Linked DNA regions of Homo sapiens: region 1 is linked to region 2. The links are contacts of gene promoters, found by promoter capture Hi-C in human tissues and cell types (Jung and others, 2019). All regions are on one chromosome and are shown on one strand. The core of a region is centred on a gene start or on the middle of the fragment in contact, and the rest is flanking DNA. Distances in the headings are between cores, read along the strand shown. Region 1 overlaps TMEM116 (transmembrane protein 116). Region 2 holds the start of ALDH2 (aldehyde dehydrogenase 2 family member).

What was found. The method cuts DNA at HindIII sites, captures the fragments that hold promoters and counts their contacts. A contact is called where the count stands out against the background at its distance.
Region 1: a fragment that was not itself captured here is called in contact with the fragment with the promoter of ALDH2 in region 2 in 1 of the 25 tissues and cell types used here (IMR-90 fibroblasts).

Annotation. Positions count from the first base shown.
Region 1 is chr12:111,992,571-111,997,457 of GRCh38, forward strand. All of the region lies in intron 3 of TMEM116 (transmembrane protein 116), which reads right to left. It also overlaps the pseudogene SLC25A3P2. Among named protein-coding and RNA genes, the nearest start is that of TMEM116, 18 kb to the right of the region's middle. The HindIII fragment of the contact is 7,954 bases long and covers 1-4,887 here.
Region 2 is chr12:111,764,867-111,770,200 of GRCh38, forward strand. ALDH2 (aldehyde dehydrogenase 2 family member) reads left to right here and starts at 2,067. Exons shown (of 13, transcript NM_000690.4): 1 at 2,067-2,230. The coding sequence starts at 2,117. RefSeq lists an enhancer at 1,526-2,295 and a silencer at 1,755-2,074. The HindIII fragment of the contact is 11,183 bases long and covers 1-4,700 here.

The sequences.
Region 1 (4,887 bases), core at 1,976-4,475, 230 kb after region 2:
ATAAGAAATGAGGTATTCTGCTAAGTGTTTAGGGATGTGGCTGAGGACTTAAAGAAAATGAAAACGTTTACAGTAATAAAAAGTCAGGGTAAAAAGTCAGTAATACTGAAAAATGTCAGAATGAACTGTATGTGTTGCCTTTCGGTTTCTGACCACACTGGTGAAATTTGTCTCTTCTTATTCTTCTCCTTTTGGCATCCCCATTCCCACTTATCTAAAAATAGTTTTGGTCCTATGGAGAAAATTATAAACCATTTATTGAGGGACTCCTAAAGATTAAATGCAATCTCAATGAAATCTCAACCTATTTTCCTGTGGAACTTGACAAGCTGACTCTGAATCTGATGTGGAAGTACAAAATATCACCCTGTGAGCCACAATCCAAGGGAGTAACAGTGGGGTGTTTGCCATCTTAGGGAGAAGCTCTCATCCATGGCACACCTGGCATGGGTGAACTCCTTCAATGTGCCACACCTGCAGCTGGTGGACGATGGCCTCACGGACCTCCACAGCGGTCCCACAAGACCCGCAAGGCCCCCCCACTGCTCTCTTAACCTGGCAGCTGCTGCCTTATAAAAGTACAGTTGTGAATTTGACTCCACGAAGTATTATGCATTGTGTGGCTCTCGTGGGGTCTTAGGTTGTGGTCTGACACACACTGCGGTCATTCCCCTGGGTTTAGTGAAATGCTGTATGCAGGTGGACCCCCAAAAGTAGAAGGGCATATTTAATGGATTCTCAGTTACACTTAAGGAGGATGGTGTTCATTCTTTGGCTAAAGGACAGGCTCTGACTTTCATTGGCCACTCCATGCAGGTGTTCTGCAAGTTTGGCTTTTATGAAGTCTTTAAAGTCTTGTATAGCAACATACTCCCAGAGCATGTTATCTCTGGTGCACATCACTGTATTTGGCTGCCTCTGCCAGTGCTGAATTCTTTGCTGTAATTGCCCTATGGAAGCTGCTAAGGTTCAAATTCAAACCCAACCAGGTTAGACCAAGACTTTGAGGGATGCAGCTCCCAAGATGTATAAGGAAGAAGGCCTAAAAACATTCTACAAAGGGGTTGCTCCTCTCTGGATGAGACAGATAGCATATGCCATGATGAAGTTTGCCTGCTTTTAAGGTACTGTTGAAGCATTGTACAAGTTTGTGGTTCGGAAGCCCTGTGGTGAATGTTCAAAGACAGAGGAGCTGGTTGTAACATTTGTAGCAGGTTACATACCTGGAGTGTTTTGTGCAATTGTTTCTCACCCTGATGATTCTGTGGTATCTGTGTTGAATAAAGAAAAAGGTAGCAGTGCTTCTCAAGTCCTCCAGAGACTTGGATTTAAAGGTGTATGGAAGGGAATGTTTGTCTGTATCATTATGACTGGTACTCTGACTGCACTACAGTAGTTTATCTATGATTCTGTGAAGGTCTACTTCAGCCTCCCTTGCCCTCCCCCAAGATGCCAGAATCTCTGAAGAAGCAGCTTGGGTTAACTCAGTGACAGATCAAAGCAAATGTGGACTGAAACTGCTTGTTGATCAGTGTTGAAGAACGTACAAAAGGAACTTTCATATATTTGACAGTGTAGGAAATTGTCTATTCCTGATATAATTACTAGAGTACTTTCACTTAAGTCAAGAGTTTCAAATTTACTATTGAAATAAACCCAACTCTTCAGGAAAAAAAGAAAGAAATATAAAATATTAAGATAACCAAGACACTCTTGAAAAAAAAAGAAGAACTTGCCCCACCTCATCTTAAGACTTATCGTGGGATCTGGCCAGCAGCCCGCAATGCAACGGGGCTCTTTCTTTGTTCCCAGGTGGATCGGCAGGTCGAGAAATAAAAGACACACACAAAATAGTGAAAGCTGGGTCCAGGGCGTCACCGCCTTCTGGTCCTGTGATGCCGCCAATGCACTGGATATACTGGCATTTATTATTAAGTTTAGTGAGGGCGGGGGTAGGTTAGTGAGGGATTTAGGGGGTCATTTGATTATGAGGTGAGATGATCACATGGGGATGAAGTAATTCTTTAATGTAACATCGGTATGCATAAGTACAGTATACAGAGATAAGAATTTACAACATAGTGTGTGTGTCAGCAATTTCTAACAGAGCCTTAAAACAGAAACACAGTCTATCCATAACCTATGTTTAGTAAGATACTAATCAGCAGTAATATTTGCAGCAAAAGCTGGTTGCAAACAATCAACAGAAACAGGATGTGAAACAACCGGTTAGACCACAAATTCTCAGAAGGGAGTATGCCTTAACCCTAAAGAGACCCAGAAAAGCCGTGGCAAGATAAGGGCGTTTATAACCCTATCTTATCCATATGAACAAGCGCCCCTCATGTGTCTATTTATAGGCTCTCCACAAGGGTTGCATTGCATTCCCAGAGCTATGAACATCTGCTTTTCTGGGATAGTAATCTTGGTGATGTGAAACCTCCCTGACTGCACGTCCGTTTATAGGCTCTCTGCAGGGAGAAGCACATCACGCACTGTTGGCTCATTCTGGCAGCCAAACCTTGCATTGTCTTTACAAAATCCTGCATGCAATTTTGTATTTACAATAATCAGGAGCATTTCATCTTTTATTCCATAGCAATAGTTTCAGGAGGTCTCCCTACAAAAACTAACATAGACCTAGAGTGAAGATACTGTGGTACTAGTACAGGGATGGACAAATAGGTGAATAAAATGAAAATAGCCCAAATTAAACCCAGCAATATATATATAGATCTCTGATGTATGACATAAGTGGCTTTTTCAATCAGTGGAAAAGAGACAGTCTTTTCAAAATATGAAGCTAGAACAATTGGGTATCCATACAGGAAAAAAAAATGAAATTAGGCCCCTACTTTGTATCTCACACTACACTCAAAAAATCAGTTCTAGGACGGGCATGGTGGCTCACGTCTGTAATCTCTGCACTTTGGGAGGTGGGCAGATCACCTGAGGTCAGGAGCTCAAAACCAGCCTGGCCAACATAGTGAAACCCCATCTCTACTAAAAATACAAAAATTAGCTGGGCATGGTGGCGGGCGCCTGTAATTCCAGCTACTCAGGAGGCTGAGGCAGGAGAATCATTTGAACCCAGGAGGCGGAGGTTGCAGTGAGCCGAGATCATGCCACTGCACTCCAGCCTGAGCGACAGAGTGAGACTCCATCTAATCAGTTCTAGGTCAGGCTCAGTGACTATATGACTATAATCCTAACATTTTGGGAGGCCGAGGCAGGAGGACTGCTTGAGCCCAGGAGTTCAAGACCAGACTGGGAAACATGGTGAGACTCCATCTCTACAAATAAAATAAAAAATAAAAAAATTAGCTGGGCATGGTGACACACACTTGTGGTCTCAGCTACTTGGGAGTCTGAGGCAGGAGGATCACTTGAGCCCAGGAGGTCAAGGCTGCAGTGAGCCATGATTGCATCACTGCACTTCAGCCAGGGAAACAGAACAAGACCCTGTCTCAAAAAAAAAAAAAAAAAAAAAAATCTATTCCAAGTAGTTTAAAGACCTAAATGTGAAAGGACAAAAACTGTAAACCTTTTTTTTACATTCTATAGGAGAATGTCTTCAATTTTTGTTTAGGGAAAATTTTCCTAAACAAAACACAAAAAGTACTAAAAGAAATAATGAAAAAAATCAACCACATTAAAATGAAAAATTGAGTCTGTGTCAAGACACCATAAAGAAAGTAAAAAGACATACCACAAAATAGAAGATATTTGTAACACATATAACTGACAAAGGATCCAAACTGTGTTTTAAAAAAATTACTAAGTAGTAAGAAAAACTCAACAGAAAAACAGGCAAAAATATTTAACAAAAGAGGAAATCCAAATGGCCATAAACATATGCAAATATGCCCTACTTTATTAGTAATAAAGGAAATGAAAAATTAAAACCACAATAAGAAAATAATTACACACCCATGGCAAAAATTTTAAGTCTGATAACAGCAAGTATTAACGGGAACAAAAAGCAACAGGACACTTTATACACTGCTGGCACAACCAGTTGGAAAAGAGTTTGACATTAATTTAGGGGCAGTGGAAATCCTATGACAATTCTGATATTGGGCAAATATACTAGATAAGCTTATGCATTTGCGCACCAGAAAACATGTACAAGAATGCTTATAGCAGCATAATGTACAAGAATGCTTATACAATAATGCTTATGTACAAGAAAACATGTACAAGAATGCTTATAGCAGCATAAGCAGGTAAATAAATTTTAGTATATTCATACTACAGAATACCAGACATCAATGAAAATGAAATGAACTCATGCTCTATACAACGTGGATACATCTCACAAATAATATTGAGGGATAAAAGCAATTCATAAAACAATACGTACAAAAATACATATAGCATTATTCCAATTATATCAAGTTCAAAAACAAGCAAAACCAAATTGTTTAAACATACATACATTTCTGGTAAACCGTACATAAGAGTAAAAAAATGCTTATCACAAAAATCTGGATACTGATTATCTCTAGAGGTGAGAGGGAGAGCTGTGATTGGGAAGAACCTCAATAGGTATATGTCTGGAAGTACAGGTAATGTTCCATTTCTTGTCACTAGTGTTTGTTTATAATCATTCTTTAAATAGTACATACATGTTTCATGCATTCTAGTTCATGTCTGGTATATCTCACAATAAAAAAATACATTTACAAATTTTAAAGTCCTGGCCAAGCACTGTGGCTCAAGCCTGTAATGCCAGCACTTTGTGAGGCTGAGGCGGGAAGACTGAATGAAGCCAGGAGTTCCAGGCCAGCCTTGGCAACATAACAAGACCCCTGTCTCTACAAAATTAAAAATTAAAAAAAATAGCTGGCTATAGTGGCGTGCACCTGTAGTCCCAGCTATTCAGGA
Region 2 (5,334 bases), core at 817-3,316:
TGGCACGATCTCAGCTCTTGGCTCACTGCAACCTCTGTCTCCCAGATTCAAGCAATCTCCTGCCTCACCTTCTGGAGTAGCTGGGATTACAGGCACTGCGACCATTCCTGGCTAATTGTGTGTGTGTGTGTGTGTGTGTGTGTGTGTGTGTGTGTGTGTGTGTGTGTGTGTTTAGTAGAGATGGGGTTTCACCATGTTGGCCAGGCTGGTCTCGAACTCCTCACCTCAAGTGATCTACCCGCCTCAGCTTCCCCCCCAGAGTGCTGAGATTACAGGCACGAGTCATGGTGCCAGCCTCATTTCTATTAATTTCTTAAGCAAATCAAGAGCATACATTGTGGCATTGTTTGTAGTGGCAAAAGATTGGAAACAACCTAAATGTCCATCATAGGAAATTCATGAAATAAAACTACCTCATGTATCCAGAGGAATACCATGAAACTGTTGAAGAGAATGGGGACATAGTCCTTGTGTGCTGTGACAAAACGATCTCCACACACAGTATTAAGGGAAAAAAAGTACCTGGCACGGTGGCTCATGCCTGTAATCCCAGAACTTTGGGAGGCCGAGGTGGGCGGATCACCTAAGGTCAGGAGTTCGAGACCAGCTTGACCAATATGATGAAACCCCATCTCTACTAAAAATACAAAAATTAACCAAGTGTGGTGGCATGCGCCTGTAATCCCAGCCACTTGGGAGGCTGAGACAGGAGAATCGCTAGAACCTGGGAGGTGGAAGTTGCAGTGAGCCCACATGGTGCCAGCCTGGGCAACAAGAGTGAAACCCCATCTAAAAAAAAAAAGCAAGGCGCCATTGGGAAGGGGAAGTGGGGCCTGCATGGCTGAATTCAGAGAAGGAAGGGAGTCTTGGTTATCAGATTATCTCTGCAGCTGATCTCCAAACCTATTTCCCTTCTTCCTGGCACAGGGGCCACTCATTTCCCAGACTCTTTTGCATGGAGGCATGGTTGTGTGATTGAAATCCAGCCAGGCGAGCAGGCTCAGCCCACAGAAACCTCCCATGGGCCACCCCCATGCCTTTTCTTCCTCTGGTTTGTGTGGAATGGTGCTGAGCCCCCAGGGCGACTTTGGTGGAATCTGGTGTTGAAATCAGAGTCCCACCGCCGGGCGCGGTGGCTCACGCCTGTAATCCCAGCACTTTGGGAGGCCGAGGCAGGCGGATCATGAGGTGAGGAGATCGAGACCATCCTGGCTAACACGGTGAAACCCCGTCTCTACTGAAAATACAAAAAATTAGCCGGGCGTGGTGGCAGGCGCCTGTGGTCCCAGCTACTCCGGAGGCGGAGGCAGGAGACTGGTGTGAACCCGGGAGGCAGAGCTTGCAGTGAGCCGAGATCGTGCCACTGCACTCCAGCCTAGGCGACACAGTGAGACTCCGTCTCAAAAAAAAAAAAAAAAAAAAGAATAAGCAAATCATGCAAATCATCCTGTTCTAAACTCTGAACCGCTGCTTCCAAGACCGTCCCTGCCCTTGCCCTGGCCGCCTCTCTCCTTGTTAACTGGGCTCCATTCATTCTTTCCATTTCTCTAACACGTGCCAGGTGGTCTCATCTCCTGGCCTTTGCCCTTGCTGTTCCCTGTCATCATTCAGGTCTCACTTGTCATTTCCTGACCATGGTACTTATAAAAGCAGTGCCGTCTGCCCCATCCATGTCACCTCGTTCATCTCCTTCACCTCCGAAATGATCTCGCTTTTGGGTTTACGGCCGGTCTCTTCACCTGGAGCATCAGCCGGGAAGGTCAGGGTCGCCCTGGCTCGGGCCTGTTCACATTGGGGTCAAAGGCACACATTGGGGGCTCAACCAAGGCGAGCTGCGTTCGCGGGGCCGGGTCTTTCCGCACAGGCGGAGGGCGGTGGCGGGCGCGGAGGCGTCGCGCGAGCCAGGGGGCAGCCACGGGCCGGGGGTACCTAGCGCCACCCGCTTCGCTTGCATCAGCTGCGCGCCCCATCCCGAGGAATGGTAGAGGCAGCCCCGCCCCCGGCCCGCCCCCGCCTTTCCATTGGCTGCCGCGCGGGGCGGGGAGCGGGGTCGGCTCAGTGGCCCTGAGACCCTAGCTCTGCTCTCGGTCCGCTCGCTGTCCGCTAGCCCGCTGCGATGTTGCGCGCTGCCGCCCGCTTCGGGCCCCGCCTGGGCCGCCGCCTCTTGTCAGCCGCCGCCACCCAGGCCGTGCCTGCCCCCAACCAGCAGCCCGAGGTCTTCTGCAACCAGGTGAGCCCACCGGCCGGGCTCGCGCTTTGTTTTCCGGCCCGAGTCCCCCGCAGGCCCCTAGGAAGGCCCCGCGCCGCCGTGGGCCTTAGTGTACTCATCTGGGGCTCGAGGGGTTTGCAGAGGCTGACCTGGAAGCACATCTGCCCCCTCCTCTCCTGCAAGCATTTTAGCCCCTTCGCCGCCTCTGACAGTCCCCGTCCCATTTCCCCGTGACTTGGGCCCCCTCTCCGTCTTCGCCCAGCCTCGGTCTGTTTTCCAGGGCCAACTCTCGGGGTTCCGTTCTCCCCATGGTCCTTGCTTTCGGGTCTCCGCAGGGTCCCCACCCTCACCCACTCAGAAGACGCGACCAAGTCCCTCTTTGCAGGAACTTTCCTGTCTTTTCCTTAGTCATCCCCTTTACCCCCTGACTCATGCCCTCATCCAAGGAGTTCAAAAGGAAAAACCAGGAAAGAGGTGATTTGCAGCCACGTTCTCCAGTTCACCATGGGCGAGGCCACGCTCGGCTGCTTCCATTGCTGGGAGTAGGGAATCCTGGAGGACCTTCGGCCCCAGGGGGCCGACCCCAAGGGGTGTCTGCGGCTTCCAACGCCGGCTTCGACCAAACCAAGGAGGAGCTTTCCAGGATAAAACTGATTCCTGTGGTCCATTTATTGATTGCTCAATCAGTAATACTTTGGAATATTTTTTGTTTTGATCTTTGAGTTTGGTTAAAGTTCTAGACTTCACAGAGGCTGAAATTGGTTATGAAAGAGTTTGTTTTGTTTGTGCCAGTGCATGTTGGCTGCCTTCTCTGACTTAAGCTTTTTCTCCTATAAATGGAAAGGCGCTCTGAGGGTTAGGTTCACACAGGCCCTCATCAACCAGTCACTTCATAGTTAATCACAGCTCCTGTCCTGTCTGCACAGCCTTTGTGCAGCACTGTTCTAAGCGTCTACCTGTTTTGCAATTTAAGGTAATTTTTACAACAGCCTCAGTAGGAAGGGACTGTAATTCTCCATTTTACAGATGAAGAGACTGAGTCACAAAGAGGTTTAGTGACTCACCTAAAGACCAAAGTCAGTGGCATAGTTGGGGTTCACAGCTGAACTTCCAGGAGTAAGCCCCTAACCAGAACATTCCATGGTATGTTGTGACTCTGGGTGGGAACAAAGGGACCACCGATCCTCTGGGACTATTGCTGATTTGGGATGCTGTAGAGCTGGCTCCTAGCCAGCTGCTTTCAACAGCACACCTGCTGGTCTGGCCCTGAGTGTGGCTGCAAATCTGGATATAGGTGATGGGTAAAGGCACATGCGTGTGATTTTAGGGGATGTTACAAAGGTCATTTGCAAGGGAATTTTTAAAAGGATAAAATAAAATCTTTTGCATAACACAAGCTAAAAAGGCAGCAGCTATGGCTCCCTTGGCAGCCTGTGCAAGTTCATGCTTGGAAGACTTGAGCATCAAAAGATCTAGCAGAGGCCAGGTGCAGTAGCTCATGCCTGTAAATCCCAGCATTTTGGGAGGCCGAGGTGGGATGATCCGTTGAGCCTAGGATTTCGAGACCAGCCTGGGCAACATAGCAAGACCCTGTCTCTAGTCTCTACTAAAAAAGTAAATTAGTTAGGTGCGGTGGCACATGCCTGTAGTCCCAGCTATATGGGAGGCTGAGGTGGGATGATCCCTTGAGCCTAGGATTTCGAGACCAGCCTGGGCAACATAGCAAGACCCTGTGTCTAGTCTCTACTAAAAAAGTAAATTAGTCAGGTGCGGTGGCACATGCCTGTAGTCCCAGCTATATGGGAGGCCGAGGTGGGAGGATCACTTGAGCCTAGGAGTTCGAGGCTGCAGTGAGCTATGATTGGGCCACTACACTTAGTCTGAGCAACAGAACAAGACCCTGTCTCAGAAATGTCCTCAAGGAACAGCCATCGCCCTAGGAACCCTTCTGGCCACAGGATCTGATTAAAATCTTTATCCTTTATCACATGCAGATGAGGCAGCTGGGTCCAGATATGCACCCAGGCCCATAGGTAACACATCCTGTTCTCCAGATTTACTCTGTGGGTGTAGGCTGGAGGAGCCGAGTCAATTCCCTGTGGCTGCTTTTCTTTATCAGACTTTTTGAGATCATTAAAGTAACACATGCCCACTGTATAAAATTGCAGAGGACTGACTTACAACTCTCTGGACATGGTCAGTCAAGGTGATTCATGCCTGTAATTCCAGCACTTTGGGATGCCAAGGTGGGAAGATCGCTTGAGATTAGATGTAAGGCTGCAGTGAACTATGATTGTGCCACTGCACTCCAGCCTGGGCAATGGAGCAAGAACCCATCTCTTAAAAAATAAATAAATAAATAAACCTCTCTGGATACCCCATTTTACTCCCTCCAAGAGCACTGTGAACAGGTGGGTGTGTCTCTTGTAGACATTTTGTTTGCATTTACAAGTGCCTGCAGCAAGAGAGAGAGAGAGAGAATGCAAGCACACCAGACTTTTTTTTTTTTTTAACATAAATGAGATGCAACCACTTATATTCTGAAGCTCGCCGTCTCACTGAACAATGTACCTGGGTTATCATTCTGAGTACGTTCAGATCTCATTTAACCCTTTCCAAGGACCACAGAGCATTCTACTCTGGTGGCGCCGTGCTGGAACTGGACCTCTTAGAGCCCCCTGGGCTGTTTGCAGTGTGGCCTTATTGCTGACTCAGCAGGGAAGAGGGATGGTGCATACAGCAGTGGACTCTGCACCTCAGCTGCCTCATCTGTAAAATGGGGTAAAATGGCTGGGTGCAGTGGCTCACACCTGTAATCCCAGCATTTTGCAAGACTGAAGCAGGCGGATCACGAGGTCAGGAGTTCGAGACTAGCCTGGCCAACATAGTGAAACCCTGTCTCTACTGAAAATACAAAAATTAGCTGGGCATGGTGGCGCGCACCTGTAATCCCAGCTACTTGGGAGGCTGAGGCAGGAGCATCACTTGAACCTGGGAGGCAGAGGTTGCAGTGAGCCGAGATCACACTACTGCATTCCAGCCTGGGTGACAGAGCGAGACTCCATCTCAAAAAAAAAAAAAAATGTGGGGGGTAAAATTCCATCTGCATCACCGAATTGCTGTGA